2 separate regions of the Homo sapiens genome follow, and region 1 is linked to region 2. The links are contacts of gene promoters, found by promoter capture Hi-C in human tissues and cell types (Jung and others, 2019). All regions are on one chromosome and are shown on one strand. The core of a region is centred on a gene start or on the middle of the fragment in contact, and the rest is flanking DNA. Distances in the headings are between cores, read along the strand shown.

Region 1 (5,456 bases), core at 130-2,629, 1.1 Mb before region 2:
ATCATATTTGTGATACTGGGGACTGTGATAGGTGCTTAAGCATTGCTCTTCCCCTCTCCTCCCTGAACAATCCCTGAGACTGACTTTGTTTCTCTTGAATTACTTGAGTGACTTGAATTCTATTAAAAGCACCCCTCTCCTTAGCCTCTGACCCAGAAGCTTGTTTGGGAGGAAAAACGAATTGGTTTCCCTAAGCTTTGCTGGCTAGCCTCCTGCTCCCAGCCTGCAACATGACTTGATTGTGTGTGCATTTCAGGGCTTTGAAGAGCAGGCAGCTTGTAGCCAATGTACCCAGAGAGCTGGCCGTAGAGTTCCCCTAGGTCACTCCTTCCTAATCTTCCCTGTGAGTCTGAATGATTGGGCCTTTCTGTAGCTTGGTCTGTTTTCCTATTGTGGGGAAGTCAGTTGTTTCAGGTATGAGTTAATACCTTCAGCTTGTCATTCTCAGGCGTTTTCTTCCACTATGGGGAGGTAGTAGATCCTGTGGGCATCTTGTCCCATTGAAATCATCTCATATACTGTTTGAGAGTTGCTCATCTTTATGGTGGGGGGTGTATTTTAGTCCTAAATCTTGCTTCTTAGGGCAAGTTCTGTTTCTTCCATGTTCCTTCCTGGTGTAATACCTCAGGCAGTTTTCACTTTTATGATCATTTAACATTAAGTTCCCATCACATGTGGCATCCCACTGAAGGAACCTCCTGGCCTTGGTACCTAATTTGAAGCTTGGGCTGTGGAAAACATCATCAGTGAGCATGTTTGAAGTAGGACAGAGTCTGGCTGGAGAAACAGGTAGTGGGGGAGCTGGGAGCTAAACTTGAGAGGATGCCTCTTTCTTGATAGTTACTGTGCTAGGTGAGTTATGAGCACACTAATCCTTTAATCCTCACACCTCTGAGAACAGTGAGGGTGAAGCTGGAGGTCATTCTGGATTGTTTCAGTGGCTGTCACACAAATTCAAATTGAGGGGTAGAGGAACTAGGAAGCGTGGGTGTGGAGTTAAAACTAGGTCCTCTGGATGGCTTTTGTGAGAAGAACCAAGGAATATTCTTAAATCCCTGGGCTTTTCTCCTAATCTTTCTGCTGCTTTCTAAGTAGATTGTTAACATTGTGTGTGTTATCATTCAGCATTCTGAGAACTAGCTTTCCAGCAATAAATAGCTTTCAAGGTGTCCTTTGCCTTAACTTTTTCATTTTACTAAATGGTGCAGCCTTGTCCACATTCTGTCCGGGTCTTCACCATCTGGTTGTTTTTCCGGCTTGGTTTGATAGTTTGCAGCAGTCAGTGGTAAACATTGTGTTCCCTGTTCTGTAATGGTGGCTGGTTGTGTTCACCGAGCCAGGTGTCACTAAGGCCCAGTTGCACTTGGGAGCAAAGAAGGGCCCTGAGGTGAGTCCTGGAAGTAAAAATATGTATAACCTAGGGCTGATGAGGCTTGTTTCACTGCTGGGCTTAGCTGACAAGAGCCTGGGACTTGCTGCAGCTCTCAGAGCTGAAACCTGGCGGTGATTCTAGGCAGGCTGGTTGGCCTTCCAGATCTTGGTTTATTCAGTGGCTAAAAGAGGTTTGGTCAAAATTATCAGTATTCAGATTATGGTCCTGGGAGCCTTGGAGTTAGACCAAACGTGCCCAGGGGCCACTGGAGTGATGTGTTTGGGCTGGGGAGCACAGCTCAATGGGTAGTACATGTCAAAGACTTAAGGGGAAAAAAAACAACTCACTGTTCATCTCAAGTTCTTAGCTCTAAGGTGTGCTACTGTTCTAAATATTTTTTATTTTTAAAGATAGCTTTATTTGCCTAAATTTGTCCTGGGTGTGGGGAGTTTAGAGCTGCCTTGTCTGTAGGGTAGCTGCTAGCTGTGTGACTAATTAAACTTTTCAAAGTATTTTTAAAAAAATTTCTTAGTGACATTAGCCACATTTCAGGTTCTCAGTGGCCTCGTGTAGCTAGTGGCTGCCGTCCTGGTCAGTACAGGTCAAGAACATTTTCCATAATCGAAGAAAGTTTTGTTGGACAGCGCCGGCCTAGAAAGTTTTTTTTTCTCCAACTCTAAAAGCTTAATTGTCTCAACTTGTAAATCTCTAAAGCATAACATGTTTGAGCTTAGTCTTCCAGAGTCCATAAACCCAACAGCTTTGGTGACAAATTATCTACTGGTTGTCTCCATGGCATACTACAAGTGAGTTCTAGTCTGCCAGTTGGGAGTGGACGAACAGTTTTGAAACAGTTTGAGTGAGGACCTTCAGAAAGGACCTGGGGACAGGAGCGTGAAGCAAAGGTCCAGATGCTAAGCCCTTAGAAAGCCCTTTTGGTTTGAAGCCGTTTATTATCATAAAGATCCCTGCTGGTTTGTCCTTGGTCTCCAAATGTCAGATGTCAACATATTGTTACTTGGTCCTTCACCCACCTGATGACTTCCTACAGATCTCAGTGCGGCCCTTCTCTTAAACGAGGTTGTGTTTTCATTCTGCTGTTTCCAGTCCACCTAAATGTTAGGGGCCATTCTTCACAGAAGGTGTTGGGGGAGAGTGGGGCCACAGCGTGGATGCTAACGTGTTCTGTTGTGGCAGGGGTGGGGAGTTCTTTGTTTCCAGATGCCCCCTCTTCTAGTCCTGGGTGTGCTTTGTTTGAACCCTGCTAGATTGACCTTTGGTATATATAATGTGAGATCTCTTTTCTTGGAGCCAGGCAGCATAAAGGACACTTACTGATGAGCACCTACTGGCATATTAGTGGCTTTTTTTTTTCTGTGTCATTTTTATTCTCTGTCAGCCCTATGAGGTTAGTACAGTGATTAGTTTGTGGGTGAAGAAACAAGATCCGAGTAGAGTAAACTGGTCCCTGGACACAGCAAGGGCTGGACTGGCTTGGACCTGGGCTGGGGCGTGCTCCCCACCTCCTCCTCTGCCCCTGCCGCCCCCCATGCTCATTGGTTGTTGCTTATTTACTGCCCCTTTATCACCACATCCTCATTCAGGAAACTAAACTGGGTTTTACAAAGATTAAAATCATTGATCCCACATATGGAGTCTGACTTAAGTGTGTTCAGCCTCGTTACAACTCTGTGAGGGAGATATTCCCTATTACAGAACATCTTCATTTTATGGGAAACTGAAGTACAGGATCCTACTCTTAACTCTCTTGTCTTTCCAAAGCCATATTTTATCATCAGAATTATGCAACCATCGGGTGCTTTTGAAATGCACAAGTAATGACTATGAATAAAAAAAGCTGTGCCTGAGGGCTCAGGGAAACTGCTCTGAAGACTGAGCTGATTGAAAAAGACAATCCTGAAGTCACTAATTTCCCGACACCTGTCAGACCTCACTTGGAGGTCACAGACCATCTCCTGGCCCTCCAAAGGCTGTCACCCAGCAGTAGCTGGCCTCCTGATTAGAGGAGGCAGTAAGATCTTTTCAAGCACAGCCCCAGCCCCCATCCCTTCTCTGGCCTGGGCCTGGATGTGCCTTTGTGAGGTTGGGTCGATGACAGATCTGAAGGACAGTTCAGTCTTCTGTACACTCCTTCTTGCCCCTCCTTTCTGCCACTCCCAAGAAAAAGGAGCAGGAGTGATTCTCACTTTCCTGAACTGCCTTGGAGGGAGACCCACACTCAGCTGTGCCTTTAGCTGTCTCTGGGAGAAAAGGCCGTGCTGCAAATAACCTCCCTGCTTTGTCCTTTGGCTTTGGTGTGGCTCACCTGGCCAAGCATGTGCTGGTGCTATTTTTAGCAGGTGGCATCCTTTAGGAGGGCCAAGTGCATGTGGCTGCAGTGTACGGGACAGGTCCTGGTGCCAAAGCTGCTGCTGTCTCTGCTGCCACCGCCTCGTCAGGAGAGAGAGGAGAATAAAGCCACCCTGGAAGCTGCCAAGGGGTGTGTGGAGGGGGTGGCTGCTTAAGAGGTCTCCAGGGCTGCCTTTTCTATTCTGGATCTGTGGCAGGGGCCCAGCCTGCCTCCTGGTGCAGGCAGGCATGTGACTGAGGCAGCCCGGGGAGCTGGGGAGCTGGGGAGCTAGGTGTCAGACTGCTGCCTGGGGAGTGAGGACCCCTTGTTGCCCCAGCAGGCAATTTTTCAGGAAACCACATAACCCCATTAAAAACATTATTTATTTATTTATTTATTTATTTAGAGATGAGGTCTTGCTTTGTCACCCAGGCTAGAGTACAGTGGCTCGATCATAGCTCACTGCTGCCTTGAATTCCTGGGTTCAAGGGATCCTCCTGCCTCAGCCTCCCAAGTACCCGGGACTATAGGTGCACATCATGATGCCTGGCTAGTTAAAAAAATTTTTTTTGTAGTGATGGGGTCTCATCACCTTGCCCAGACCCATTTCAAGACTCCTAGGCTCAAGTGATCATTCCATGTTGGTCTCCCAAAGTGCTGAGATTACAGGTGTGAGCCACCGTGCCTGGCCCCATAACTTCATTTTTGTGTGAAGTTGCCCAGCCTAAAGGCTGGCCACTAAATGGACACTTAAAAACTCTCTAATAGTGTGGATTGGTGGGCAGTCTGATTCCTCTGGCTTAAACCAAAATGCAAACATGAAAGGAGGCATGGCCATAGACCCCCGGTGAGAATTCTTTACTGTGATGACACAGAAGCTGAAGAGGGATGAAAAAGCAGTTTGACCAGCAAGCTTGCTGGTTCCCTAGGCCACCCTTTCTTCTCTCCTTTTCAGTTCCTCCTTCCCTCTAACTTGGAGCTGCTAACTCCAGCCCATCTAACTGTTTCTGATTAAGAAAGCTTCAAGCCTTATAAGGCCCTCTGTTGCCTATGGTTTATGTTGGCTGGAGAGCAAGGTTGTTTTTTGCAAAGTCTGATTCAAAGAAGTGGCAAGGGCTTACGTAGGCTGTGTGTGTCCGCCTCCTGGGGCTGGACTGCCTTATTGGAACAGGTTCCTTTGAGGGAGCCTGAGAGTAAGGGGGGCTTATTATCCCTTACCCTTAGTGGTGGCTCTGTAAGGCTAATGTGTGGTGTGGCCACAGGGCTTCCTGGCAAGTGTATTCGCTGAGAACTTAAAGGTAAAAGCAAGCCCCTGTTTACCTACACAGTGTACCTGTCATGCTACCAGCCACAGAGGCATCCTGTTTCAGGAATCAAGTCTGGAAGCAGCTTCTGCTTATTAATTAAGAACTAAAGCCCCTTGGCTCTTCAGGCACATCGCTTTCCCCTCTGGAGAAAGTTTGGTGGACCGTGTCCCTTGGGGTTCTTGCGAGTCCGACTGGCCTTCCGCGCAGTGATGTTGGAGAGCCCTTTTTCTGAGAGCCATGCTCTGCCTCATCTTCACCTCCCCTCTTGCTACCTCTTGAGTCAGCCAAGCCTGTTCCTGCCTTAGGACTTTGGCACATGTTCTTCCTGCCTGGAACTTTCTCCCCGCTCTCCTCCTGCTTCCCCCCAGATCTTGGCACAGTTCTCAAGTGTTCCAGTTCTGATGCCACCTCTTCCAAGAGGCATTCC
Region 2 (5,172 bases), core at 1,567-4,066:
AGCTCTTGCAGCCAGCCTGTGTGCCCGGATCTGGTCCATCCACACAAAGGTGGTTGTTTTATCTTCATTATATACCACCTACTTAGGAGCCAACTCTGCCAGCATTGTCCAGGAGTTGTTGTGGGCAGAAGCCTCTCTCTCTTCACAGTACTTGATAGTCCTTCATGGTTCATTTTGGGTTTTGTTGTCATCTGAGTTGTAAACATGTCTTAATTTTATTGAAAGTGGAATTTCTGTTGCCAGTGAGGAAGAGAAAAATAAAAACCTTTGTTTTCTTATAACCAGAAGTCATTTATTCATTTAATTTTTTAAAAGTTGTCTTGGGCCACTTTTTAGTTTATAAAAATCTTACTTTTATATGATTCAGAATATCAGTTCTAAAGGTAATATACAGCACAGAAAAGCTGCTTATAATCTACAACACTGACACAAAGGGAAGGAATATAAGTAAAATTTCTTCCAGATTTATCTTACACATGGTTAATCCACAACACCAGGTGCTTAATTGAATTTGTTGAATATGCCCCCATTAAAATGAATATGGCTATATTTATGAGAATTTATGCCTTTAAGACATCTCTTACTGAGGCTATGTTCTCTGAGAGAGAGAGAGAGGAGAGAGAGAGAGAGAGAGAGAGAGAGAGATAAAGGTATTTATTGCAAGGACTTGGCTTACATGATTGTGAAGCTGGCTAGGCAAGTACGTAATCTGCAGGGCAGGCCATCAGCTGAAGTTGCTGTCTACATGCAGAATTTTCCTCCTTCAGGGAAACCTCAGTTCTTCTCTTTAGTTCTTTCAACTGATTGAATCAGGCACACCCAGATGATCTAGGATAACCTCCTTTACTTAAAGTCAACTGATTATAGACATCAATTTTATCTACAAAATACCTTCACAGCAACACCTAGATTAGAGTTTGATTGAATAACTGGAAACTATAGCCTAGTCAAGTTGACACATAACACAGACCATCACAAAGGGAGAATGATTAATTATCAATGATGCTGGGCTTCCTGCATGAGAATTTACATGATATTTCCTCTACACGTGTCCTGTATCCGTTTAGTGGCTTGACATTATAATAGTAGCTAAGTCTGACAAACATTTATTTTCTTAGAAATGTGATACATATAGAAATAATTTTCTCAGCTCAATTTTCCATGACTGAGTCTTTAGCATAATTACTCCATCCAGGCCATTCATACACTGGCAACCATTATACTGGCTAGTGGTTGCAGTAAAGATGAGCTTTGATGGACATTTTACGACCTACCTGTACTTTTGACAGGGGAAATATATAAACTGGAACCTACCAGGTCTCTATTACTGAAAGCTAAATCGGAATCATAAAGAATTAATCCAGGTAATTCAAAATCACCCATCTGAGAGTCAATAACATTAACAAGGCCTGTGCCCATCCCCACCATCAATCTAGACTACTTTCCTGAGTGGCTCAATTTTAAAGTAGACTAAAGCTCCAAATAATGGGAAGAATTTGTGTTTTTTTTAAATTGACATCTCTTGTATGTGAAAGAACGTCACTTCGTGTTCTTATCCCCAGAGGCAGAGTCTTTATTTTGCCAAGTATAAACATTCGCAATGAAAGAACTCAGACCAACCTGAGAACCTCACGTGGATCAGAGAGCTGTGAGAAATCACACAGATTTTACAGCACATCAAGCTTACAGTGTTGGTTAATTCCAATTTTTAATCAGTTCCTCATAATTAGAAAATATATGGGCTTCTTGTGCCAATCCTTGTATTAAAGGGAGTAATAATTGACATGTAAATAATGCTAGCACTTTGTAGATGGTGTGAGTATAATTGATATGGGTAGTGAATCAACTGTGGGGGTATTGGTTGACAAGATGAAGAACAAGATTTATGGGGTAATTAAGTTTTCATTTTAGTATGCAGACATTTTCCCATCCATGACGTTGCCTATGTAAAGATCAATTCAGTTTAAAAGGAGAAGAAATCAAACCAGTTACCTTGACAACACCATGAAAGAGAACTATCCATTGTGCTGAAGAGCAAGTCGTTGGTTCTCAATGTCTGGTCCCTGGAACAGGTGCATCAGCATTATCTGAGAACTTGCTACAAATGCAAATTCTTGGTCTTACCATTGATGTACTGAATGAGAAATTCTGGGCTGGGAACAGAAGTCTGCCTTTTAACAAGGCCTTCAGGTAATTCTCTCAAGGGTAGGTGTCACTGGTCTAAGAAAGAAATTCTCCTAAAACTCTCAGAGTCTCCTTTTTTTTGAAGACCCTCTTGTCCTTTTGGATCTTGGCCTGAATATTACCCATTCCTCAAATCTCTAAAATTTTCAATGTGCTTGGTACTTTGGGCCCCCCAAGGAAGACCTCTCAAAGAGTGTGTGCTTTTGAGACATTTAGAAACTTTTTAACAACTCCCATTGCTCCCTTGGCCCCAGTGATAATCAGCCCAGCTCAGCTTCCTGAGCCCTGTCCAATAGTTTCTCCCAAAGGATATTCCCCCTTCCCCTGGGGTCTCACCCATGGTATTATTCATGAAGTAAGGGCAGGAGCTAAGAAACTGTGAGGCTGAAGCAAAGGATCTCCAAGAAGATGTACACTGAAGCCCCATTCTGGGCTAAAGGGAGGTGAGAGACCAGTGTTTCCTCAGCTGCACAGAGATCAGCTGTAAGAAAGATCTTGCAACACCTGCTAGAGGGTGGGAGTAATAAGCAAGTGACATAGACCTGACGATAGTAAGTCTAAAGGATGAGCAGAGACTCAAGAAAAACTGCAAGGGGAATGTGATGTTGAAAACGGATGCCTCCGATTACATAGGAAAACAACAAAGCACAGAATTCGCCCTATGAGACTTAGAGGGAGGATGCTCACAGCAAAGGACATCAACGGTGAGGAAAATCACAAGATTCTCGACATTGTCACATAAAACAAAGTCACATTTACCTGCTAATATATTAAGTTGGCAAACATTTCTGAGCAAGTGCTAAATCAGAGATGCTGTCATAGACTCTGGGCTTACTAAGTTATTGAATTTACAATCTAGTTAAGAGAAGCAATAGAAAAAATGATAAATGCTATAATGGAGGTATTTATCAAATGCTATTGGAACACAGAGAAATAAGGAATTAATTCTGCATGAGAGAAATGGGGGGAGGAGTCAAAGGGAAAGTGATATTTCTCTTATCGCCTCTAGGTTGAGAAGGTAGCAAAAGGCATTTCAGGAAACAGGATTTATTACCAAAGATATGAAAATAATGAAATATACTGCCTACATGGAAGCTATGAGTTCTTTGAACAGCAATCAGTTCCCAGGTGACAGTGATACTGATTAGAAAGGTATAGGGAGGCTATTTTTTATAGTCTTGTATGAAATGCTGAGAGAGAGTTGCATGCACGTATGTAGGTATGTTTTTCCACCCTCAGTTTATCCACAGAGCATTTTAGGTGGCTTCTGAGAGTTTGAGTTTTAAGCTGTGAGCAAATCAAATATTATAACAATGAGGAATATGATCACATCTGAGTCAGAGGGGTCTCATGGACAGCTGTGTAGAAGGTGTCCTGGAGTGAGGCCAGGCGCGGTGGCTCATGCCTGTAATCCCAGCACTTTGGGAGGCGGAAGCGGGCGGATCACGAGGTCAGGAGATCGAGACCATCCTGCTAACACAGTGAAACCGTGTTACAAAAAAAATTAGCCGGGCGAGGTGGTGGGCGCCTGTAGTTCCAGCTACGCGGGAGGCTGAGGTAAAAGAATGGCGTGAACCCGGGAGGCGGAGCTTGCAGTGAGTGAGCCGAGATCGCGCCACTCCAGCCTGGGCGACAGCGAGACTCCGTCACAAAAAAAAAAAAAAAAAAAAAAAGAAGGTGTCCTGGAGTGGAAGTAAACTGAAGGAGCAGAATAAGATTAGAATGACCTATAATATTGTAGATAATAGATTGCAATAGGCCAGGTAAGAGAGGGTAAGAGAGATTGAGACAGGGCAGGGGGAGGGGGGAGACCACTGACCCCCTCCCCTGTCACCCTCCATCTTCTTCTTCTTTTTTTTTTGTTTTTGATTTTTTGAGACAGAGTCTCGCTCTGTCACCCAGGCTGGAGTGCAGTGGCATGACCTCCACTCACTGCAGCCTCCAACCAGCTTCAAGCGATTCTCCTGCCTCAGCCTCCCAAGTAGCTGAGATTACAGGTGTGTGCCACCACGCCCGGCTAATTTTTTTGTATTTTTAGTACAGATCCGGAGTTTCACCATGTTGGCCAGGCTGGTCTCAAACTTCTGACTTCAAGTGATCCATCCGCCTCCGCCTCCCAAATTTCTGGGACTACAGGCGTGAGCCACCTCTCCCGGCTCCTCCATCTTCTTCTGTCCCTTTAGTCCCGTTTTCTCCACCTCCCCAGCACTTTTCCACTTCCTTTACCTTCACTTGCTCTATTCCTTCATCTCCCTTTATTCCTTTGTCTATTTCTATTTGTTTTCTTTCAACAACTTCCTTTGTCTCCCACCCTTGGATTCAGTAACATCTTGTAAAATTCCTGTTTCATTCAGAAGCTCTCTGAGTCCCCTTCATACAATATTCATCATCTATTTCTCAATCCAATGACTCTCCCTCCCTTTTCTCCCTCTTGTCTCAGCACCACCACATATGCCTCACTCATAAGGGGCCGCCCACAGTGGAGGGCAGGGGAACTACTGGATGTCTCAGGCATCCAGCTGCATCCAGTGTCTTCCTTGTGCTGAACTTGTGCACCTGATAGCTATTCACCCATGCAGCAGTCAACACCAAGAGCTTTTTAAGTTAACTGTCATTAAGAATGGGTACTGCAGGGCACAAATAAATTGTGAGATCCAGATATAGGCTTTGGACTTAATAGTTGAATTGTGGAGGGAAAATATAGACAAGGAAAATCCATTAACACGATGATGTATTAAATGTCATGTGAAAAATAATTGGCAAAGAATCTTATTACAGAGTGGAAGAGAGGATATCTTTAGATTAAGAGAATTCACACAGGTGAGTAATTGCCATTGATTATTCCATACACTGTTTTAGGAACTTTATATCTATCATTCTACTTAAGTCCTCAGAAAATTCTACAAAGCAGGTATTTTTATTTCTACCTTACAAATTCCCGTGAAAACTGAGGCCCAGAAAGATTAAGTAAGTTACTCATGGTCAAAT

Evidence for each region. Contacts are between HindIII fragments. The study calls those that stand out against the background at their distance.
Region 1: a fragment that was not itself captured here is called in contact with the fragment with the promoter of OR4D2 in region 2 in 2 of the 25 tissues and cell types used here (dorsolateral prefrontal cortex and mesenchymal stem cells).

Annotation. Positions count from the first base shown.
Region 1 is chr17:57,087,580-57,093,035 of GRCh38, forward strand. All of the region lies in intron 1 of AKAP1 (A-kinase anchoring protein 1), which reads left to right. Among named protein-coding and RNA genes, the nearest start is that of AKAP1, 5.1 kb to the left of the region's middle. RefSeq lists enhancers at 3,833-4,382, 5,305-5,456. The HindIII fragment of the contact is 3,932 bases long and covers 1-3,345 here.
Region 2 is chr17:58,164,166-58,169,337 of GRCh38, forward strand. It overlaps OR4D2 (olfactory receptor family 4 subfamily D member 2), which reads left to right and starts at 2,817. Exons shown (of 2, transcript NM_001004707.4): 1 at 2,817-2,888. The HindIII fragment of the contact is 7,868 bases long and covers 1-5,172 here.